Regions from separate parts of the Homo sapiens genome. Here all the other regions are linked to region 4. Evidence: promoter capture Hi-C in 16 types of primary human blood cells and fetal thymus (Javierre and others, 2016). All regions are on one chromosome and are shown on one strand. The core of a region is centred on a gene start or on the middle of the fragment in contact, and the rest is flanking DNA. Distances in the headings are between cores, read along the strand shown.

Evidence for each region. Contacts are between HindIII fragments. The CHiCAGO score rates a contact against its expected background, and 5 or more counts as called.
Region 1: a fragment that was not itself captured here is called in contact with the fragment with the promoter of VIRMA in region 4 in 1 of 17 cell types (neutrophils); the score reaches 6.8 in neutrophils.
Region 2: a fragment that was not itself captured here is called in contact with the fragment with the promoter of VIRMA in region 4 in 5 of 17 cell types (total CD4 T cells, naive CD4 T cells, naive CD8 T cells and 2 more); the score reaches 6.9 in total CD4 T cells.
Region 3: a contact is called between a fragment that was not itself captured here and the fragment with the promoter of VIRMA in region 4, in 1 of 17 cell types (non-activated CD4 T cells). The highest score is 5.8, in non-activated CD4 T cells.
Region 5: a contact is called between a fragment that was not itself captured here and the fragment with the promoter of VIRMA in region 4, in 3 of 17 cell types (naive CD8 T cells, total CD8 T cells and fetal thymus). The highest score is 6.3, in naive CD8 T cells.
Region 6: a fragment that was not itself captured here is called in contact with the fragment with the promoter of VIRMA in region 4 in 4 of 17 cell types (naive B cells, monocytes, total CD8 T cells and 1 more); the score reaches 6.1 in naive B cells.

The regions. Positions count from the first base shown.
Region 1 is chr8:95,252,944-95,256,908 of GRCh38, reverse strand. All of the region lies in intron 4 of CFAP418 (cilia and flagella associated protein 418), which reads left to right. Among named protein-coding and RNA genes, the nearest start is that of CFAP418-AS1, 14 kb to the left of the region's middle. The HindIII fragment of the contact is 7,599 bases long and covers 1-3,965 here.
Region 2 is chr8:93,984,105-93,987,976 of GRCh38, reverse strand. No RefSeq gene overlaps it. Among named protein-coding and RNA genes, the nearest start is that of PDP1, 69 kb to the right of the region's middle. RefSeq lists enhancers at 1,938-1,987, 2,058-2,177. The HindIII fragment of the contact is 1,955 bases long and covers 311-2,265 here.
Region 3 is chr8:93,724,557-93,728,388 of GRCh38, reverse strand. It overlaps CIBAR1 (CBY1 interacting BAR domain containing 1), which reads right to left. Exons shown (of 9, transcript NM_145269.5): 8 at 1,876-1,995; 9 at 1-184. The coding sequence ends at 92. RBM12B (RNA binding motif protein 12B) reads left to right here. Exons shown (of 4, transcript NM_001377960.1): 4 at 1-234. Among named protein-coding and RNA genes, the nearest start is that of RBM12B-AS1, 14 kb to the left of the region's middle. The HindIII fragment of the contact is 1,175 bases long and covers 1,441-2,615 here.
Region 4 is chr8:94,550,649-94,554,991 of GRCh38, reverse strand. It overlaps VIRMA (vir like m6A methyltransferase associated), which reads left to right and starts at 1,523. Exons shown (of 24, transcript NM_015496.5): 1 at 1,523-1,607. The coding sequence starts at 1,545. It overlaps VIRMA-DT (VIRMA divergent transcript), which reads right to left and starts at 1,279. Exons shown (of 2, transcript NR_183271.1): 1 at 1,085-1,279. RefSeq lists an enhancer at 1,210-1,829. The HindIII fragment of the contact is 4,366 bases long and covers 1-2,457 here.
Region 5 is chr8:93,763,364-93,767,431 of GRCh38, reverse strand. It overlaps TMEM67 (transmembrane protein 67), which reads right to left. Exons shown (of 28, transcript NM_153704.6): 4 at 3,491-3,590; 5 at 1,957-2,026; 6 at 1,786-1,860. Among named protein-coding and RNA genes, the nearest start is that of TMEM67, 11 kb to the right of the region's middle. The HindIII fragment of the contact is 1,750 bases long and covers 1,894-3,643 here.
Region 6 is chr8:95,275,075-95,278,885 of GRCh38, reverse strand. All of the region lies in intron 1 of CFAP418-AS1 (CFAP418 antisense RNA 1), which reads right to left. Among named protein-coding and RNA genes, the nearest start is that of TRS-AGA2-5, 7.2 kb to the right of the region's middle. The HindIII fragment of the contact is 2,661 bases long and covers 1,231-3,811 here.

The DNA of each region.
Region 1 (3,965 bases), core at 1,030-3,529, 700 kb before region 4:
AGCCTGGGTCAGATATTCCACTGCCACTGGGATGCTTGTCATTCTGTACTTTCCACTTATGTTTTTCTGTGTCTGAGTATATTTACATTTATTCCCTATCTGGAACAACACTCCCTTCTAATGCATGTCTCCTGCTGCCTTATCTGTTTAATTCACACACTGCAGATTGATTTTTCTATTTAAATTTTTTCGATTTTTTAAATCCATTGAATGCCCATGTCCTAAACCCTGTGCTAGCTTATCAATAAAAGGCAAAACACTGGCCAGTAAGGAACAAAGAAGCAAATGATTACTCCTGTGGCCTGAAATGGAAGGGCTCTGATGACAGAATGCCTGAGTTCAAAGCCTCACTCTGCCACTTACAAGCTCTGAAGCCTTAAGAAGGGATGTTATCTTCTAAAACCTGTTTCCTCACTCTTAAAAACTAAACATATTTCATGGAGATACTCTGAGGATTAAATGAAATAATACATGAAAACTATGCCTATGGTGCAAAAGACAGCTAGGTACTGCAGGCACACTGGGTTCTAATTAAGGTGTCTTTCTCATCCATTAGTCCTGCTTTCTTGTTACGTTATATCTCAGGGACAAGAATCTTTATTCTACTACTAGTTTTCCATTTTATCTCAGGAAATACATATAATTACAGGTGCCTTCTGTTTTTACAAATGATCTTTTAAAAAAATACATTCTGGTTTACTTCTAAAAAGTAAACATTTCATTAAGATTTTCTTATGTATGAAATATTTTGTACGTACTTTGATTTAGTTGTAGCACAGACAAAATCTATGTTAGATGGAATTTCAGTAAACCAAAGAACAGCCTGTTTTCATAGCTCGAGGCTCCTATCACATACTATTAGTCCAAGTGGGATGCCGAAATCAATTATACCTGATTTCTACCTCCTGCACAGCTGTAAGAAGAGATACCAGTTGCATATATATGCGCAGGTAAATGTTTGTATTCACAGATTTTTTATTAGTTGCCCCTTTCATGAAACAGAATTTGCACCCATAGAAAGACAAACACATGTGTTCATCTGCATATGCAAATTTTATGTGTGAAGTACTTTATACTGTCCAGAGCACTTTTTATATATGCATATTGACTTACCTGCTCCACAAGAGAAAAACCCAAGATGCTGATCAAGAATTTTTACCTCCATTTTATAAATGAAGAGATTGAGGTACTTGTGTTAAATTCATCAAACACATATTAACCACCTGATAGGTCCTAAGGATTAAATGAACAAATTTTGATGAACAAATAAATGGACACTTCCTGTCTTCAATGAGCTTTCAGTCTAGATGAGGAGATGGGCTTTAAATAGATTATTCCACAAATAAGTATTTATTTTCCATTTGATATGTGACATAAAGGGAACATATGGGATACTATAAGCATAGATAATGGACACTCTAACTAATATGAAGGGTCAGGGAATACTTCTCTGAGCAGATAATCAAACCACAATATGAAAAATGAGTAGGAGTTAGACAAAGAGAGGTGACCATTGGAGCCAGAGCACACGCATGTTTAGAAGCTCCCTGAGAAGGGGAGGAGCTGGGGGTGTTCCTCTGGTGGAAGGAACAGAGAGTATCTGGCCATGCTGGAGCATAATGAGTAGGGAAAGAATGGCCACTGACTGGGCTGGAGAGAGAGTGGAGGGACATTTGGCTTAGGGTCCTGTAATCCTTTTGAGGATTTTGGAAAAAGTTTGTCCTGTGTTCAATGGGCCAGATTTGTGTTTCTTAAAAAAGTCATGTTGGCTGCTGTGCAGAAAATGGCTTGGGAGTTGGAGGGGCAAGACAGGAAAGGACACAGGAAGACTAGTCAATGGGCAGTAGTTAGAGTGGTCCAGGAAAGAGAAGATGGGAGCTGTGACCTGCGTGGTAGCAATGGCTATAGGGAAAAGGTCAAATTTGAAATATTTAGAATATAGAATTGACAGAATTCAGTGATTGACTAAGGAGGGTAAGAAAGAAAGTTGTTAAGAATGACTCCCAAATAAGGTGCCTTGCTCAAGGTCATATCAGTTATTGCAAAGCAAGGATCCAGATTGGTTACTTGATTCCTAATCCATTATGCTTTCTATTATACCACTTAGCAGAAAGCCATGTAATATGGGAAGAATCTTAGCTGATGTTGCTGTTGGAACTGCTGTTATCTTCAAACTATCCAGACATCAAGTTTCTTTAGTCCCATTGTGCAGATCTGATAGGATTTAACAGAGAACCACAGTGTCTGGGCAGAAGATTGTATTGGGTTGGATTTGGGGCATTCCTGTCGTAAACATCTTTAAAATAGTGAATTCTACTTTTTAGCTGGACAAAAGAACAAAGCTCTTGGTGACATCTTATGTGTGATTCCCTCTACATTTTAGAGGGAAAGACCTGACAGTTTGTCTTTCACTGGAGTCATGACTTTATATTAGATATGCTTTTATGTACATAGTTATGAAAGAGAAATATATTTCAGCCCTGAAAAGAGTACTGATTTACATGGCCAGGGCATAAAGGAAATTGAATCTATCCTGCCTATTTGCGTTGTTTGATTTCTAGATACAGCTCTGGCTTGAGGTAATGCTGAATGACTTTAGATTTTAGAAAAAGATTTGTCTTTCACTTGTTGGTGGAAAAGGGGAGAGAATAGTAGTAGGAAGCATGGTGGCAGTAATAAGTACTACAGATAAAACGAAGGCATTTTCAAGCCAATCGAATTTTACTCTCAATTATTTTTTAAACAACTTGCAAGACTGGATTATTCCATAGACTGGTACTAATTATGATCTAATAGAGTAAATCGTAGCAGTGGAATGATTTCTTAGCTGCAAGTTAGTTTTATGTTTCTCAAAGGACAGTGTTTGTAGGAAAATGTGGTGGTGTGAATAGATTTGAATAAACTACTAAATTTTAAATTAAATTAAAAAGCTGTATTTAGCATTATGGTTGAGATTTTACACATACAAAATGTCAGGAAATTCTAAATTATAGTTCCCACAACAGCAATAATTCAGCCAAATTGCACATATGTATTAAGGCATTAAAGTTAACACTCTGTGCAATCATGTAATAAACTATATATGCATAAGAAAGCAGGTCATAGTAGCTTTGGGAACTATCAATTTGCATTTCCTGACTTGTACATTCGAAGTCTGAGTTCAAATGTGTACAAATGTAGTTGTTGAATTTCCAAATGTAGAAATGCAACTTCATAAATTGCTAACAGTTTGAAAGAAAATATGGACTTGCCTATGAAACTTGTATAGGTTTTAAATGTTTCATTATTATTATGGTTAATAGTATTTTTAGAAATACAAAGCATTTATTCTCAAAGAAATTTTCAGGCCAAAAGTATTTGCATTTTGAAATTAGCGTATCTGAACTTTGAAGGGAAATAAATGAAAAAAATCTAATGATGAGTTTATTTTTTCATTACAGAAGTATTATGTGCTTAATGAAAGAATAAAAACAAAATTGAAACATGTATAAAGAAAAAGATAATAATCTCCCTTCCTTCCCTTCAACCACTCCTGATGCAACCAGGGTTACTGTGTAGTATATAACTTTCTACATTTTGCTCCATGTTCTTTTTTTTTTGAGACAGAGTCTCGCTTTGTCGCCCAGGCTGGAGTGCAGTGGCGCGATCTCCCCTCACTGCAATCTCCGCCTCCCGGGTTCACGCCATTCTCCTGCCTCAGCCTCCTGAGTAGCTGGGACTACAGGCGCCCGCCACCATGCCCAGCTAATTTTTTTGTATTTTTAGTAGAGATGGGGTTTCACTGTGTTAGCCAGGATGGTCTCGATCTCCTGACCTCGTGATCCGCCCGCCTCAGCCTCCCAAAGGGCTGGGATTACAGGCGTGAGCCACCGCGCCCGGCCATTTTGCTCCATGTTCTTATAAACTTCTAGCCACCTATATAGGAATTTTTTGTGGGGGTCGTTTTTACAAAAATAGGATCATGC
Region 2 (3,872 bases), core at 39-2,538, 570 kb after region 4:
TTATTCAATGTCTATCTACATTCTCCTATCGCCTCCCACATCAGCCTGAAAAATCGATTAGAACAGGAATCCTGTTTATGTTAATTGCTGATTAGAACTGTGGGATGAATGAATGAATGAGTAGGTGAACATGCATGCTATAGTCCAGGCATACGGTGCAGCTACCACTCATGTAATGTATGTAGTTTTCCTTTGTTGGTAATCATAAGCTTGATACTTAAAGTCATGTGGCACTTCCTCTCCTCTGGAAATATTGACCAGTATCTAATGAGGATTAAAGTTTGATGATTTGTAAGGGCACAGAAAAGCTTACAGTCCTTAAGAGTGCTTGGAAAATTCTTACTTCTCTAGGAGGAAAAGACAATGATTATGTTATCAGCAATTTGTCTTAAAGTTATTGCAACATGCCTTCTTTTTTGGTGCCTGGAAGTCATTACTGCAATATTAGAATAACTGGCCTTGCTGATGTTTGACTATAAGTGGTTGTTCTGAAAACACATTGGAAAATCCCTGCCCCAGTCCCCGTCTATCTTTTGTGTGTGTGTGTGTTTTTAATGTTAACAAAAACCAGAAGGGGAGTTTAAGAGAAAAGCAAAACCAAACATGGTTATGCAGCATTCATGGGAGTTTGTTTCAGAAGCTCACATTTCAAATGCTGAATTAATTGCAGGCTTATAAAAGTAAGAGTGAAAAAGAAAATTTTCAGAACCAGGAAATAAAAAAAGAGCAAGTCTGGGAAATCAACCAATGTGCTTTTCTTTTGAATTTTTTTTTCCATGAAAACAGAACAGGATGTGAGGCACAGGGAAATTGGGACTTTTTTTAGCCAGAGCAGGGTTTGAAAAACCTGGTTTTGACCTATGAGTCGTCTGATGCACAGATGCCAACCCTGGAGCCCTTCTGGTTGCTGCCCATCTCCTCGGCCTTCATCTGCATGACCAGCTGAGCTGAGCCAAGGCCTGTGACAAGCAGGAACTGGATTATCAGCCACCCTTGCATTGTGTCTCATATGTTCCTCTCTATATTAATCATGCTTAGGTGCCAGGAGTATTTGCTAGCATTCCTAAGATGAAATGAGTTCCTGTTGGCAATAAGTAATTGTTCATTTAAAAGACAACTTAAAATGTTTAAAATATGTGTGTGTGTGTTTGGGAGGAGTATATATATGTGTGTGTATACATATGTAAAACTTCATCAGCAGATTAAAAAGAGAGTCTTAAATTAGAAGAATTCAGGCAAGCATGGCCTCTTATCCTCGTAGAGCAAACACTCCACATCTCAAAGCTGAGAATGACATGTTTTTCATTTGGATTTCTAGGCCTAAGTTCAGCATTTATTTCTTTATAAATACATATAAACAAAGTCTCCAGGCAACCATCATGAAATAAAAGCAACTAGTTCTGAAAAGCAGAATAATGGCTTTCATTTTAGTCTTCTTTTTTGCTACTTGGGAAATCTCTCCCACTCTACACCACTCCCACCAATCGCCCATACACATTCCCCAGTAAAAACAATAGTAGTTTATGGGTTTTTTCACCACCAAAGAGGGAAAAATGTCTTGAGCCTCAACATATTAAATATCAGAGTTAAATGGGTTCACAAAATTCCATTGGTTAGTACCCTAAGTTGGCTGATCTTAGCTAAAACAAACATCAAAGAATGCGGGAGTGCTCACTGGCTTCTAGGATCATCTGCCTCATGCAGGTTGCTTTTCTTGCTGTATGGCTGCCTAGCAACCTGCCACCAGCCAGTCTCACTCCTTCCTGCTCATTTCCTTACACTGGTCCCCAAAGGCTTTCCTACTTGTTTGTCCTACAGTAGCAGGATCTAAACACCCAATGCCCGCAAGAGTGGCTTGGAAGTTGTTTGGGATAAGATCGTGGCAGTCCTTGAATGCCAAGCCCTGGAGTCTCCCACTAATTTGAGAGATAATGGAGAGCCACTGTCACTTGGAAGCAGCAGACCAATGTGATCAGAGCTGGCCCCTGTTTAGGAGGCTGTGAGGTAACAGACCACAGTGACAGCCACAGGGATGAAACAGGATGCAGAAAAAGAGCTGCATGCCTGTGGTAGAAGACACGTTGGCTGTGGGAGCCCTGGAGATACCAAAGGCGCTGCCATGCTTCAGGTCTGGGGTGGGGCCATCTGCAGATGCAGTGAGTCAGGAAGCTACACGGAGAGAACTGTAAGAACCACACTGCACTTAATGAGTCTGAAGGGTCAAAGGAACAGAGAGGCTGAGGTGCCCACATTCTCCCCAAAGCTTCCTCTAGGAGGAAAATCACCACAGAGACTATTCGAGGAGCTATGTGACTGTGTGGCTTCCTTCAAATCACAAAAGTGCTGTGAGGGAGTGGACAGGTTGGGACAACTTGTAGTGATTTCCCCAAAGCCTCACTATGCCACTACCGGCCCACAGGGCTGTCCCATGATGCAGGCTGAGCCACGTGTAGTACCTCCTCCCACTGGCCTGTGATTGGCCTAAACTGGGCAAGAGTCTGTGGCTAAGGAATCAGAGTCATTTCTTGGAAATGTCTACAGAGGTCTCCATCTGGAAAGATTTGAGCCTAGAACATGTTCCTCACCAGTGAATGCAGCCCATCTTCAAAAGGAGAGAATAAAACCCTTTTATTATTACCACTTTTATTGCTATTTATTATGAAAATTACCTTTCCAGAGGTAAGCAAAGACAAGAACTTTACCTGGTAGGGATCCAGTCCCTGAGTCCAGCCAACTCTGAGGCTAGGCTTTTTCTTGGCTGGGTCACATGAGCTAATAGATTCCCTTTTTATGGATTAAACAAGTTCAAGTTGGGTTTTAGTCACTTGTAACTTAAGAAACCCTGCATAATATTGCACTGCCATCTTGATTATACAGACAAGGGAACTGAGGCTCAGAGGTCAACTAAATCATCATAGAAACGTATATTAAGGCACAAGGTTTTGAAGCTGGATTTGTCTGGACTCCAAAGCCAGAGTTCTTTTCTTATACCATTTTGCCTCCCAATTGATCCCACAATTGCTGTTCTCAAGAGAAGGGGTAAATAAACAGACATGTTTGGATCTCTTCATGTTGTCCATAATCCCCTAGTGAAGCCATCTGTGACACTGTTTAATGCCCAGTGCCACGGAAAACAGGAGATTTGTTCATTTTGCAGATGTTTTCCATTCTCTCCAGATAGTAACTCTTCTCCCTGCTCCAGCTTTACAAGCAAAAACCTACTTCCAGCTTGGGAAGAAATACAAGACAGGTATTTGCCACCTACCACTTAAAGGGAGTGGTAGAGAACGCTGTGCTTTGATGCACAAATCCTCATTAAGGACCAAGGGTAGAGAAGGGGAAAGGTGCACTGAATGGGGCAAGCATCCACCCTCCAGCTCTCTAAGAAACAGGAGCTGACTCAGAAGTTGGGGAGAGCATGGTTGGAGATGTGGCCATTGCATAAGCTCACAAAAACTTCTCCAGCTACCGTCAACTTCTGAGTCTGTTTCTTCCAGGCTGCAGATTCACAGCAGACCCATATTGCTTGGCACAGCACAAATCAAGGGCCAACTCCAAAATTAACTTCTCATGGTGAGGACTGGGGTCATATAGATCAGTTAGGACCACGGGAGCGAGCCAGAAGAGGGAGGGTGGAGGTGAGTCTACCAGTCACCCCAGGAGATGTCAAGCATGATGGTGGGCCCTAAAAGCAGTGAAGAGGTCCATTACCTACTCTGTAGGCAGGACCACAGGAGATCAGGGAACCGAGTGATCATGGCAGATGCCACTTGTTTGTGAGCAAATAGGAGACACAGCCTGGGGACCCAGGAGGACATGGTAAACATGAGTACAGTAGTAACAAAGATCAGTTACTCAGTCTGCATGGGCAC
Region 3 (3,832 bases), core at 779-3,278, 830 kb after region 4:
TGAGGCTTAACATAGCAAAGTGAGTATAAAGTTCTACAATTTAGTCATTGTGGATTTCAAGTCATTTATGATGAAAATGGAAATGTGTAGTTTACTTAAGAAAATTTTCTTCTTCTGTAACATCTAACTCGTCATCCTCATCATCTTCTGCTTGTTGATCCTTTCTTAGTCGACAAGTGGATACCTGTTAAAAGTTAACACACTTTTTAAAATAAAAATACTAACTTAAAAAAATTTTACATTCTTGGTATATTTTTATGCTATTAAAGGGCACACAACAAATATTTCAAAAAAATGTCCATGTCATAATTTTTAGTAGTGAAAATTCCCTATGAATTTTAAGCTCAGAAGCCAGTTTTTTCATTCATCACATTTTTTTGAATAAAAATGTGTAATTAGCCATTTGATTTTAGTTGGATAGCCATCAATACTTCAAAAACATTAAAAGTATAGACTCTATATTATGAATATTAAAAATAAATTTTGGGTCACAGAAACAGCATTTGAGAATCATAAAATGGATGGCAAAAATAGAAGGATATTTCAGCTAGGCAGTGGGACAGAAATACTGATGTAAAAGTAGTGTGATTTAAATGGAATGAGTTGAGAATCTGAATTCACCAGTTTTAAGTTGCCTGACTGCCGCCACGTGGGGCATATTGCTTAAAACTTCTCTTGAGGGTGATTATATCTAACCCAGGGGACATTTGGGAATGTCTAGAGACACTGTTGTTTGTCAGTATTGGGGCTGTGTGTTTATGTGTGCTACTGGCATGTTGTAGGTAGAGGCGGGGGATGCTAATATCTGCTTGATGTCGTCACAATATACAGGACAGTATTCCGTCCCCTTCTTCCTCCCTGGTGGGCCCAATTATTTGTCCCAAAGTCAGCAGTGCTGAGGTTGAGAAACCCTGGGATAATGCATTCTGAAGTGCTATACAAGTGTTAGCTAAGGTGACATTATTAGTTGTAGTCAAAACTTTATATGGACTATAAAAGTAAATTTATGGAATTTATGTTCAAGGCACTTAATGCCGGAATAAAAAAAATACAATTGGGTTGGGGGAGAGATACATACATATAAAACAAAATAAATGCTTACAGGAGAATCAAATGAAAATAGAAAGTATGGTATCAAATTTACCTAAAAGTTGTATCTTGAAAATAAGTTTGTTGAATTTTATATTCTGAAGGCTAGATATGAAAAGGGCATAGCTCTCTAGATCAGGGTTTGGCAAGTTGCGGCCCAGCCAGCCTCCTGCTTTTGTAAATAGAATTTTATTAGAACACAGTCATACTGCTTTATGTGTTACTTAACAGTTGTTATTTATAGTTGTTGGGGTAGAAACCATATGGCCCACAAAGCCTAAGAATGTTAGTCTCCACATCTTAAAGAAAAAGTTTGTCAGCCCCTGCTCTAGATACTGGGAAACTCAAGCTTTCTGGATATAGAAAAAAAATGAAATGATTTCTGTGTTCAGTAAAAGCCCTTTTTTAGTATAATTTGGTATTTAACTTTATAATTTAATGAGATCCACTAAGTTTTGATAGTGAGATTTAAACCTAAGTTGGACTTCAGAATCTGCTCTTCATATTATAGCAGATAACACATCTGCATTAGCATTCTTTTGTCTTTTCCACTTCTGCTCTCAAGTGTTATGCTTTAGAGAGTAATATGTAATTACAGTATAAAAGATAATTAAGAAATAATAGAGCTGCACTTAATGCAATCTTCTGTCATTTTATAGAAGAGAAGAAATAGGTCCAGGGGAGGATAAGTTACCGAGGTGATATGACTGAGGGGAAACATTTTTAGAACTCAACAATTCCAAAGGCAGCAGCTCAAATTCCTTTAGAGTACGGTTTCTTGCTCACCTGTCCTGTTCCAGATACACACTTAGCTGACAGTGATCTCTGAAGAGGTGACTTTGAATTTGCTCTTACAATATCTAAACGAGATGAATAATCTGGTGCATACAGAGAATTTCGGAAAACCTATTGTAATGATAAAATAGCATTATAAAGTAGATGCTAAACAAAATCAAGACAGTCAAATTAAGTTCCTTAGTTAAGATTTTTTTTTAAAAAAACAACTCCCCCCAAATGGACAAAATTCCAATTATTGTAAATGTAAAAGAAAAGACAACAAAAATAAGCTAGAAAGATGAAAGCTAAAAATTCTATTTGAACTATGTAAGATGATGACAGATATTAAACAGTAATTAGTCATGAAACAATCATTTAAATGCTTTTGCCAGGAGAACTGCAGAAGTTGAGACCCTCAAAGAGCATGCAAGCTAGTAGGGAGGCTGCGACTCATACCTTTGAATCTTTCTGTTCTGCAAATTCTCAACTCTTACCAATTTAACTCTGCAGTACTGCTATGAAAATTACATAAGAGTAAATTGGAACCACTATAATTTATGGATTCCAACCTTACTAGGATCTGGAATGCCATGACTTGTCAGTTCTCTTTCCTTAAGGCACTATTTCCAAATGTTTACCACTTTTAAGCCTTTCTAGCTCCATCTTTTCTACCCTACCCCCACCATTTCTCTATATAGACTAATAGGTAAGGTTATCAGATATGAATCTCTTGAACTTTCCCTCAAGCTTTTCGCCCCTCCTTTTCCTTCTTTCTCTTTAAAAATACCATTCTGATTTAGTTCCAATGTGCATTTTTCCTTTAACCAAAACTTCAAACCCAACCAACAAAAGCTTTTGTTGTCACAGGTTCCCTCTCCTAAAAAACAAGCTCAAGATCAGTCTTTTTTTTTTTAGTTATCTCAAGGTATAACTACTTAAAAAACTTTCTTGAATATTCGACTTCATCTCCATTTTCTTTTTAAACAAATTTCTTTTCCATTTATTTATCAACAAACTACAATTGAGCTTTTCACCTCCCACTAAAATTGCTCTTCCTCACATCACCAAGGTCTTTTTTTCCTCTTCATCCTCACTGACCCCCTTCCTGAAACTTAAATGCTACTAAACTCTTTCATTGTCCTGGCTTCTCTATTTCTTTACATCTCCTTTTCTACTACTTATACCTAAAATATTTTTAAAGGGTTTCCTTTAGGCCACTTATTATATATAAAAACAATGCTGCTGCACACAGTGGCTCATGCCTATAATCCTAGCACTTTGGGAGGCCAAGGCAGGAGGATCACTTGAGCCTAGGAGTTTGAGATCAGCCTGGGCAACATGGCGAAACCCTATCTCTCCAAACAAAAAAACAATCAGCCAGGGGTGGTGGTGCATGCTTGTAGTCCCAGCTACTTGGGAGGCTGACGCAGGAGAATCACTTGAGCCTGGGAGGCAGAGGTTGCAGTGAGCCAAGATCACAACACGCCACTGCACTCCATCCTGGGCAATAGAGTGAGACCCTGTCTCAAAAAAAAAGTTTCTCTGAAAGATCTTATCTACACTGTTAATGACTACCCTTCAACTAATCCCCTGACAAGCATACCCTGTGATAGCTGTATTCATGCTCCCAACTATCTCCTGCTCTAGACCAGCACTGTCCAGAAGAACTTTCTGAGATGATGGAAATGCTTGCTGTTCTGTACTGTACAGAAACGTAGCCACTGGCCATGTGTGGCTACTAAGCACTTGAAATGTGGTTCACGTGGCCGAGGAGCTGAATTTTTAAATTGAACTTTAAATAGTTATATATGCCTAATGGCTACTTTACTGAACCGTGTAGCTCTAGATTAGCTATTACAATGAAAGACATTATCTTTTACCTAGAAGACCAAACTATAAGCCTGGGCATTCTCCCTAAATTTCTCACCTGACACTTTGGGAGGCCAACGCAGGCGGATCGCTTGAG
Region 4 (4,343 bases), core at 274-2,773:
TCAGACATACCAGAAGGTACAAACAATAATATAAGGCATGCTTGTGAAATTAACATTAACCTAAATAACAAAACATTACCAAGGCATGTGAAGCCTTTCTGTTCTTCTCCATTACATCTCCTTCCAGTTTACCACTATCTTGAAATTTTAGTTACTCCAATACATGACTTTATAATTTCATGACATATGTACACTCCTAAAATTTTATATTCTTTTGCACGTTTTTAAATATATAGATGTTATTTTACACTATATATTTTTTATTTCCTTTTCTAAGAGATGGGTGTCCCCACTGGCCTCCAACTCCTGGGCTTAAGAGATTCTCCTGTCTCAGCTTCCCGAGAAGTTGGGACCACAGGAACACGCCACCGCACCCGGCTTGCGATGAGAGGAGTTAAACTTGTTTTGTTTTGGTTTGTGTCTTTTTTTTTTCTTTTTGTGAATAACGGGGTCTCGCTATATTGCCCAGGCAGTTCTCCAACTCCTGGGCTCAAGCGATCCTCCCGCTTCATCCTCCCTAAGTGCTGGATTACAGGCGTGAGCCAAAGCGCCCACCAACCCTGTTTTTTGGGTTTTTCATGCTAGTAAACATAGCACTGGTTCATTCTTCGTACCTGCTATATACTATTATATAAATACGCCACTATTTACTTATTACTTCTGTCAATGGCACTTATGTTTCCTGCTCTTTTGCAACTTATAAAGTTTGCTATGAATATTCTTGTATTTGTAGATACGTGGGCGAGAATTTTCCTAGAAGAGTGGTAGGCACGTGTAATTTTACAAGCTATTTCCTAGTTGCTCTGCTAAGGGTTTGTGCCATTTAGACTACCAAACCCGCTGAGTTTATCTCGTTGCTCCAAAGCTCATCAACACCCGACAGAGAGGCTTACTTTTCATTCTGCCTCCTGTTTTATTGTTCATGGTACTTCACGTTACACAATTCCTCGAATTTTATTTCAATTACTCCTCACAATCACCCTGTAGGTTAGGTACGATTTTTCACATTTTACAGATAAGAAAACAAAGAATCTCTTCGTTGGTTGAAACAACAGTTTTTCTTCTATTTAAATCAATGTCTTACTTTTCAACCTCGCTCACTGTTATCTTTTTGCTCCCAGCGCTGGAAAAAGTGGGACATCCCCTTCGGTGGGTGTACGGGGTTGGTATCCAAAGTTGGCAGCTTTCCCTCCCCCTCCTCCATCCACCGTCTCCAAAACCCCGTCTCCGCACTTCGCCACCCGGAGACCGCTGTAGCTCTGTAACGCGGAGGAACGACAGGGTTTGAACCACTGGAGACCCCGTAGTCCCCATCTCACTTCCCTCTGCCCCCCCTCTGCGTTCTAGGGGGCGCCCTCCGCCGCGCTGGAAAAGGCGGGGCCGGCAACTCCGGGCAACAAGATGCGTTGGGATAGGCCGAGGTTTGCGGCGCTAGTGCTCTGGTCACCGGAAGTCCCTCTGTTTCTCCCTCTCCTGAGTCGCTGTCGCGGAGGCTGGAGCGCTGCCCCGGAAGTCCTCCCCCCTGTTCCCCGCCCGCGGCAAACATGGCGGTGGACTCGGCGATGGAGCTGTTATTTTTAGATACTTTTAAACACCCGAGCGCTGAGGTAAGGCTTGGCGACTTGATTCTGACGCTGCTTCTTGACTTGGGATCTTTACAAAAAAACCGTTAGGCGTTCTCCACTTTTCCTTCTGCAGATTGCTTCTTTAATTTCTCGCTTACACACAGACACCCTCCCCCGAGCTGTGTGAGCATCGCGTCTGAGGGAGGGCTGCAGCAGCCCCTTCATTTCCTTGCTTTAACTTGGGCCCTCCGTGTCTTTGGTCGAGTTGGCTTTTCTGCTTGCATGGCTTTATTTTTTATTTTTCCTGTCAGGTTTGGGCCTTGAGAAGGATCAGGGTTCTCAGGTTTACCTCAGATGGCGTTTGGGAGGGGTCTTGGTTTGCCAGTAGTGTTTGACAGTAGTGCCGGAGTCTGAGCAGTTTACGTTGGCTTCGTGGTTTCCGAATCACGATGTTTCTAAATCCTTTCTCTTTGGCCTCTTTTCTGTCGGGAATTATGTTCCCCAGTTGTGACACTTACTTGGTTTAGGATTACGGTGCTCTCCGATTTGGCCTGAAACTTTAATACTTGTCTCTCGGAGAGATTTCACACATTAGGAATGAGATGCATTCACGGAGAATACTTGCGAAGAGGGGAGAGTTGAGAGAATTATAGTTAAACTCATCAGCAGACATCTCCTTTGAGGTTGGAGGTGGAATGTTGTGGAGTAATATTTCTGTACAAAACTACTTGAGCGCCCCTTAATGTACAATTGGCCCTGCAATATGTAGATTAAACATAGCTGGTTAACTAAAGATTCCTGAAAGCAGACCAAAAATGAACTTGAATGAAGTCTACGGAGAAATTGTTAAAAAAAAAAACGAACTTCACATTTTTCTGTCTTAATGTAAGCTTAATTTAGAGAACTGTTCTTTCTTTGGAGATTATTTTTTTCCTTTTATTTTTATCAAGTGTGCTCTTGTATCAAGCTTTTTGAGGACAGATATAATTTCTCTTTTTCTCAGCTGTATCTCCAGTGCCTAGGACAGTATTAGCAAAATGTAGGTGCTCAATAAATATTTGAATGGAAAATGTTTAAAATGTTCTTTCTTTTATGAGATAGTAATGATAGTGGGTAGTGATTGTATCATAATGCTTTACTTGGCAAAATAAAAAGTTGACAGCTGTGATCTAATTTAACGAATGGTTTATAGGTTTGTAAAAGTCAAAAGTTGGAGAACTTTGAGTTAGCATTTCTTACTGACAGTTAATTTATGGTCTGACATTTAATGTGGGTCAGTTAGCACTGTTTGTTCAATGACTATATCTAACATTCTAGCCGAGATTTAGAAAACCCTCAATGGAGGCAGTAGTTGGATCAGAACAAACTTATGGTGTATAGAAATAGAGAACAGTTAAAACTGAAAGAGCCTGGCGCAGTGGCTCATGCCTGTAATCTCAACGTTTTGGGAGGCGGAAGCAGAAGGATTGCTTGAGTCCAGGAGTTTGAGACCATCCTAGGCAACACAGTGCAACCCCTGTCTCTACAAAAGAAAATTAACTAGTTGTGGTGGTTTGATCTTGTTGCCCCAGCTACTCGGGAGGCTGAAGTGGAAGGATCATTTGATCCTGGGAGTTCAAGGCTGCAGTGAGCTAAGATCACACCACTGTGCTCCAGCCTGAGCAACAGAGTGAGACCCTGTCTCGAAAGGAAGAAAGAGAAAAAGGAAAAAGAGAAAGAGGCATGTGATGAATTAGTTTAGTACTATTCTAGTTTAGGAAAATTGGCCTTCATTAGTTTATCATGTATTTCTATTCTTTTATTCATTCTTAGGTAAACATTGAATACCTTGAGAGCATAGGGCAGATGGTAAATGCTTTCTTCTGGGGTGATTGGGGAAGGCTTAGCAGAGATCACATTTAAATCAAGTCTTGAAGGAGGAAGTAGGGGTTTGTGGGTGATACGAAATATTGAAATGTTTGTTTTCAAGAAGTTATAACTCAGTATTGGAGATTAGATTCACAAAATTGTGATTTGAGTTAGAATGTGATGATCACATAAAGAAGCACAGTGTGAATTCGTTGGGGTTTATCATCTTAGTTTACAAAATGCCCATCAGTATCTGACGTATTAGAACTAGCTCCCTTTGTGGGTATAAATAAAAGATACAAGATTTCAGAAGAGGCAGAGATAACTTTTCATTTGAGTGTATCAGGAAAGACTTCATCAAGGTGTTTGGCTTATGAACTTGGTCTTTGGTGAAAGGGGCAATATTTCACAGTTGTAGTTAGGAAAGGAGGGCATTCTACTGGGGTAGTCAGTCGTCTGTTAGGGTATGCTTGAAGTAGCAGTGTGAAGTGGCACCCAAGGCAATTCAAAGACAGATCATGGAGCTCCTTGAATGCTCGACAAAGAATTACAGACTTTAGGCCAGGCGCAGTGGCTCACGCCTGTAATCCCGGCACTTTGGTGAGGCTGAGGTGGGTGGATTGCCTGACGTCAGGAGTTCGACACCAGCCTGGGTAACACAGTGAAACCCCGTCTCTACTAAAATACAAAAAATTAGCTGGGCGTGGCGGTGTGCGTCTATAGTCCCAGCTACTCGGAAGGCTGAGGCAGGAGAATTGCTAGCACCCGGGAGGAGGAGGTTGCTGTGAGCCAAGATCACGCCACTGCACTCCAGCCTGTGCGACAGAGCAAGACTCTGTCTTTTAAAATAAATAAATACATAAATAAATAAAAATTATGGACTTTATTTTGTAGGAAATGGGTAGTTTTTGAGCAGGCGAATCATACAAT
Region 5 (4,068 bases), core at 1,519-4,018, 790 kb after region 4:
GAGTTAAGGGTTAGTGAGGAAGTGTAATCTCAGAAATACTCCTCACAAAATACTAATCAATTACAAATGGAAAATGGTAACTTTATGGTAGTCATGGTGACTTTAAAGCAGGTGATCAAGGTTAACAGCATCAGTGGTGGCACAGGTAGACACTGTGTGCCCCTGGATGTGATGCAGTCCACTGAAAAGAACATGACATCTTTTTTGTGGCTTTCATCTAAGCAGGTACAAAGTGTGAGGAAAGTATCTGTAGGATGGTAAGGCCTGTAATATTCAAAACTGTTGCATTCATGAAAGACAGGAAAACACTGAGGACCTAGTTCCAGATCGGAGGAAGCTAAAGGGACATGACCATTAAATGATTGGGGATCTCAGACCAGAAAGAACAAAGAGTCATTGTTGGGACTTTCAGCAAAATTATTTCAACTTAAATTATTTGAAAAAGGAAAAAAGGAAAATTAAAGGCCTGCAAATTTAATAATCATATACAGATATTCACTCCAATCTGGAGAAGAATGCCCCAGAAGACATGTATCTTGTTACAGATGAGCCAATTTTGGGATAATCCCAGAGCTACCTATGTATTTTAGCTTTTATTTTGTTGTCTGGTAACTACTTGGTACTTGCCTGTCTTCCTCACAAGACTATACTGAGTAGAGGAATTTTTGCCTCATTCATCAAGATCCTAGATCCCACCCTCATCATTGCTATCCTCACAGTCCTCTTAATCACTCTTATATTCAATAATAATATTAACAATAATGATATTAACAACTAGATCACACCCTGTCCACCCCAAACTCTGGCATACTAAGCATCTTCAATGTTCATTCAGTAATTCCTATTGTAACTCCTAGTCATCTAACTCTTATTCTCTTGGATTTGTTACCTCTTTAGTTCCAATTCATCTACTTACTTTCCATTTTATACCCTAGAAGTGGTTATCACCAGCATCTGCTGCCAAAGCTCTAACTCTAGGCCTCAATGCTCTCATCCACAAAATAAGAAACAACTGGCTGGGCGCAGTGGCTCATGCATGTAATCCCAGCACTTTGGGAGGCCAACGTGGGTGGGTCACAAGGTCAGGAGTTCAAGACCAGCCTGGCCAACACAGTGAAATCCCATCTCTACTGAAAATACAAAAAATTAGCCGGGCGTAGTGGCAGGTGCCTGTAATCCCAGCTACTCGCTGAGGCAGGAGAATCGCTTGAACCTGGGAGGCGGAGGTTGCAGTGAGCCGAGACTGCACCACAGCACTCCAGCCTGGGCAACAGAGCGAGACTCCATCTCAAACAAAAATAAAATAAAAAAAAAAGGAAAAATCTGGCCAAATAAGAATAATCCTGATTTCTCTAATGATTACCATGTACAGGCACTGTGGTAAAGGTATTTTTATTATGTCCAACTTACAGACAATAAAATGAAGTTTTGAAATCTTCTCAAGGTCCAAGGATACCAAACTAATGACTTGCAAATCCAGGGTTCAAATCTAGCGTTTCTGGTGCCCTTAAATGTATTATACTGCATCCTATACAGAACATATACCAGATATTTCTGGTGTAAACATTCTGTAGCGCACTGAAAAACAAACAGGCTACGGTACAGACTGAGTACTGTACTTAGAAATTATACTGCTGAATTATTAGACTAATGTTTCTTAGATTGATTTTTTTCTGTTTTAAAATGATTTACACAAAAGGGTTTCTCATTCTAGCCTGAAATTACTAATGGATGAAATGTAGAAAGTTTTTTAACAACAGAACAAAAAAATTGAAACATACTCACAACTTCTCCATAACGTGCAGCTGAAATTCTACGTAGAGGAAAATTCCCTGTGCTGCTGAAACATAATCCCCCTGTCTTCATAAATAAATGAGGGAAAAAATAGAAGCTTATGAAAAGGCATAAGCAACTGAATTAAAAATATATATACTTTATCAATTTGGTTAGCCTTACTAAAATGTTAGGTTCTGAACATGCACAGGACCTGCTGGTATTAACAAATGTTGGCTCACATCGGACGCACCTGTTCAATATAACAAAAATAATTTTAAAAATGTTAATAAATTATACTAAACCTAATAGAAAAGCTGTCTTTCTAAACAATGGATTAGAGTAGATTCATTCAGTAAGCAATTATGTAAATATGTTAAACAAATTTAAAATAACACTGATTTGAATAGTTTTAGGCCATTCTGTGTTACAAAGTATAAAGTAAGTAAAACTAATCAATAATAGAAGAGTATTTTTTAACTACATGGAATGTACATAATGAATAATTCTGAGTATGAAAGATAATTAAGTCACTCAACTAACAAGAGAGCAACAAACTCATATAAATGAAACCCAATTTTTACAATTAGTTATATCAAATATACTTTCCTTATTTTATGTGCCACAAAGTAAAAAGGTAGCATAACCCGAAGAGAAATGTATCTCTAGCTCCTATCAAACCTACAGCCAACACTTTTAAATAAATTCTATTTACCATCTTTGTTTATTTTAGAAAAATACTTCATATTTTTCATTAATGAATGAGACAGAGGGAGGGAGGGTACTGGTCCAATGAGGACAGTGATGAGTGAATATATGGGTATTCATCACTTGCAAAATAGAGCAGGTAGGAGTCGGGCTGGGGCATGACATAAAACACACTAGGCTTGGGGAAATATTGGGCAAAAAAAATTGGTATTTGGATGCCATAACTCAGGTCAGCCTTAGAGAAAAGATGATCCAACACTAAGTAGCCCTCAGAAAAGCTGCTCAACTATTTTCCATATTAAACTTGGAAACTAAAGAAAAAACTGTGCCCGGAGGGAAGTCATGATGTAGGCCTCTAATAAATTAAAGATGCTGAAATTGGTATAATGTGCTTAAATTAGAGGGAAGTATATAGGCAGGCAGGGGTGTGTGTGTGTGTGTGTGTGTGTTTCACAAATACATGCACAAAGGGGGAACAGGAAGCAACAGAAAATGGGACTATAAATCAGGGTACCTGGGCTATTATTAGCATACATTTATGTTTTTCTATGTAACATTATAATACATAAGGGCTTTAGTACAGTACTTAGCACATAATTATATTACAGATTATATACAAATTATGTAACAACAAACAAAAATAGCTACCCTGTACAGAGTGGTTACTATGTAGCACTATACTAAGAACTGTATCTATTTACTTTATTACTTATTATTTCTGAGCCATTACAGCCTATGAAGTGGGTGGTAACATTACCATTCTAAAGACAAGGGATTGTGAAGTAGTGAGCTATCCAAGGTCAGACAACTAACAGACTGGACCAAAATTTGAACCCTAGTGTGTCTCACGCTCTGGGCCTCAGCTTCTGTATCTGTTAATGTCTACTTCTATCCTTCCTTGGGTTATTGTGAAAACTAAGTGATATGATAGGAAAACACTCTTAAAAGTACAAATTATACACTAATATAAGATGATATTAATGAAGTTAGCCCCCATCACACTGCTTACCTGTCTCCTAAAGCATTTACTACCATAAAAGAGTTTTCATTTCCATCACAGAGCTCACAAGTTGCTTGAGACAACAATGTTCCATTAATGTCTCTTTCCACTGAACAGTTTAGAAACAAAATAAAGATGTAACTCATAGTAAACATATAAGCTTCTACATATTCAGAAAATATTTAACAAAACCCAATTGTAACTATTATTCTATTAATTCTCAAAACACTTTATTTGCATTAAAGGCATAACAAGTATCTCCATAATAAAGTGTAGAGAAGTGATCCCTTCGTACCCGTCCATGCCTCCAAAAAAAAAGAGAAGTGATGCCTTCCCTATTCTCACATAGTAAAATATAGAAAATCATTTTCCAAGTCATCGTAACAATTAAGTCAGTATTTTTTTCCTCAAAAATTTTCTTACCTCTTATCTATACATTTCTGTCACACTAGGATGGGGAAGCAAGTATTTTCATAGATTACTGATAAGTTTCTGCAACTTAGAAGGCTTTTAGTAGTATCTATTAAAGTTTCAAATTCACATCCTTATAACACCACAATTTTGTTTTTAGATACCTAACTTACAGA
Region 6 (3,811 bases), core at 1,312-3,811, 720 kb before region 4:
ATTCTGCTCAAACCTTTCCAAAATATTGAAGAGGAGGAAACATTTCCTAACTTACGCTAGAAAGACCAAGGGACTTAAATAGCTTTCGGTTCTAAGAGTTTTAGTCATACTGTACTTAGAGCATGGATATTGATCTGGATTTCAGTCACAGGCCAGTGTGCAAATTCAGCACATGACTCCTTCCTTGAAATACAGACTTATAAACTTTTCCTGGCTGACTGAACTTGCTGGCCTTTTCCTTTACACTCATGTCTCTTTTCTGTGTATGTAGGATGGTTACTGGAAAATGTTAACAGTATACAGACACATGTTACACAAAACATGGCAATAAATGTAGAATAATGAAACTGGCAAGAGGATTACAAACTTATATGCAATAACAGACCTTGAACTGGAAAGATCCCCCAAACAAAAATTTAAGAATTAAGTTGTCTGGTTGAGAAAATTTGTCTGCCAAGTCCTCACAAGTAATTAGAAAATCAAATAAAGCTTATTCCTCTCCTAGTCTCAGTTTTGTTTTGTTTTAATGAGAAGGAGAGACAACAATAAGATAGATAATAAAGCATGTAAAATATAGTACAGCATGGTAAAATGAACATGAATTTTACAGTTAGACCCAGGTTATATGACCTTGGACTAATAACTTTACCTCTCTGTCCTTACTTCCTTTTTTTTTTTTTTTTTTTTGAGATAGGGTCTTGCTCTGTCACCCAGGCTGGAGTGTAGTGGCGCAATCTTGGCGCACTGCAACCTCAATCTCCTGGATTCAAGTGATCCTCCCACCTCGGCCTTCCTAGTAGCTGGGACCACAGGTACACGCCACCACACCCAGCAATTTTTGTATTTTTTTAGTAGAGACAGAGTTTCACCGTGTTGCTCGGACTGGTTTCCAACTCCTGAGCTCAAGTGATCTGGCAGCCTCAGCCTCCCAAAGTGCTGGGATTACAGGCATGAGCCACTATGCCTTTCTCTGTCCCTGTTTCCTGATCTACAGTGATTAAGTAAAATAAGTTCTATAAAGAGCTCAGAATAAGGTAGGTATGCAAAAAAATATGTTATACACATGATGATACTATAGCCAACACATCATTGCCAAGAGGCATGCAGAGACCTCGATACCAGGATGACAAGGAGATGGAAGCCATTCCAGTATGGCTCAAGCTAAAAGAACTGACCTGAGCTTGGGCTTATTTGTCCATCAGACTACATCACAGTATTTAAAGGCAAGCTTAATCTGATCCAGGCTGGCACTTATACCCAAGGGCCTAGAAATGGAGGCCTAGAAAGATATGACTGTGGAGATAGTCATAGTCAAGTGGTTAACAATTTGATTCCAGACAGACTCATTCATGTTAAAACATACCCTTGGCCAGGACCAAAAGAGATAAGGGGCTGATCCCCCAAAAACAGGGGTCAGCACAAGCCAGGAGTTTGTCAGGGCCCTTGTACTAGGCTGAAAAATGGCCCCCAAAATGATATCAAATCACATCGAATCCCTGGAACCTAAAAATGTGACCTTATTTGGAAAAAGAATCTTTGCAGATGTGATTGAGTTAAGGATCTGAAAAAGAGGCACTTATCCTGAATAATCTGGGTAGGCCCTAAATGCAATCACCTGTATCCTTATAGAATAAACACAGAGGAGAAGGCAATGGGAAGACAAAGGCAGAGATTATACTGATGTGGCTACAAGCTACAGAATGCCAAGGAATCCCAATAGCCACCAGAAGCTGGAAGCAGCATGGAGCAGATTCTCCTTTAGAGCCTACAAAGGGAGTATAGTACTGCCCATAACTTGATCTCAGACTTCTGGCCTCCAGAACTCAGAGAATAAACTTCTACTGTTTTAAGTGGTGATTTGTTACGGCAGCCCTAGAAGACTCCTACAGCCCTGGACAACGCTTTGGGGTTTGGACAAAATTTCAGCCCAAGAACAGAAATGGAATTCAATCTAGAAGTTGAGTAGAAGCCCATCCACAAGGGTTCATGGAGAAGACAGCAGTGTGGCATTTTGCTCAATGCGTACCAGACCTAGGCCATCCAGACCAATTCCAGATCTAACCATGATGGGGAGGAGCAAGTCTTGGGTTAGCTAGGAATTGGGTTCACCTTGCAGATGGGATATTTCAACAGCCACAGCCAGGCTGGGCAAACAGGAACTGGCAAAGCAGTGGGTGATGTTTTGGCAATAGATGATAAATGTCTTCTACAATCTGACCACATATAATTAGAGATAATGTCAGTTTCAAAAGGAAAAACACAAAGGGTCAGAAAATATGCTGCTCTTGCTGCGGAAGGAATCTGTCCAAGGACCTGGAATCACTAGTTCCTTCCCTTCACAGACCAGGCACACACTAGCCCTAGCTCTGGGGTACGGAGTGTGCCATCTGTTCTGGCCCTTTCTGTAGCCCCCATACCCTCTCTGGAACTAAGATCTCCCTGTGTGCTCAGGGAGACTCCTTCTTCAGCCAAGAGCTTCTGTGACTTGAACAGACCATTCTGTACCCATATTAGTAAGAAAGGAGAACTGGGAAAAGGAAGAATTTACTATCCCTACAGGGTTCAGACTCATGTCTGAGACTCAGCCTCATTGTTAGAATACAACAAGGATCTCTTACCTCCCCCACAACAACAAAAAAAAATGGTATCATAATGGGCTCTCAATTTAGATGTTCTCAAAAGCTATACTTCTCCCTCCCTATAGGAGAAATAAATGTGCATCAGTTATAGTCCCTGTCCTTCAGAAGTTTGTGTCCTCATACATAATATGAGGTCAAAACACAGTCACTAATCTGGAGAGATGTGAGTACAGTAGAGTGGCACAAGCTATCAGAGTTGAAGAAGTTGAGAACAGAGCATGAGAGATATTTGTATTAATATGTCAATGGCAGGAATGAAAGGATTCCAATATATGGCAATCTGACATTAAATTCATAGCATCAATTTTATGGCCACTAGACATAACCTGGGCAACATGGTGAAACCCCACTTCTACAAAAAATATAAAAATTAGCTGAGCATGGTGGTGTGTGCCTGTAGTCCACACTACTGGGAGGCTGAAGTGGGAGGATGGCTTGAGCCCAGGAGGTAGAAGTTGCGGTAAGGCATGATCATGCCACTGTACCCCAGCGTGGACAACAGAGTGAAACCCTGTCTCAAAAAAAGAAAGAGAAAGAAAGGGAGGAAAGAAAAAGAAAGAAGGAAGGAAGGAAGGAAGGTGGTGGGGAGGGAGGTAGGGAGGCAGGGAGGAAGGGAGGCAGGGAGGGAGGGAGAGAGGAAGGAGTCTTATCCAGAATGACCATCATGATGTTGAAATAAAAGAATGCAATGTATGGTTATAATGAAAATCTCTGAATAGTCAAAGAATTTCTAAATCATTTCACCACTCTGGGCTTGATCTTGATTGCTTTATCTATCAAATGAAAGAGGTGTTTTTTTGTTTTTTGAGACACAGTATGTTGCCCAGGCTGGAGTGGAGTACGGTGGCGTGATCTCGGATCACTGCAACCTCAGCTGAAAGAGTTTTATACATTATCACTAAAGTCCTTTCCAGCCCCCAAATATTCCTTAGACAGTTCATGGCAAGGTCGATACCAACAGGTACCTTTTGTAAGGCCATAAAGATTGGTTGACATGTGAGTCGGTAACTGAGGAAATAGAGCAAATTGGTCTGCATAAAACCTTGGGTTCCTTCCCAAGAGGCAATATGGCCAATCAAGGGAAATGGAAGACTGATGGACACCAAACCTAAGCCCAGGCCTGTGGAACATGTCCCATCACCTCCATCAATTTGGTTTCACTTTGCCTTCAT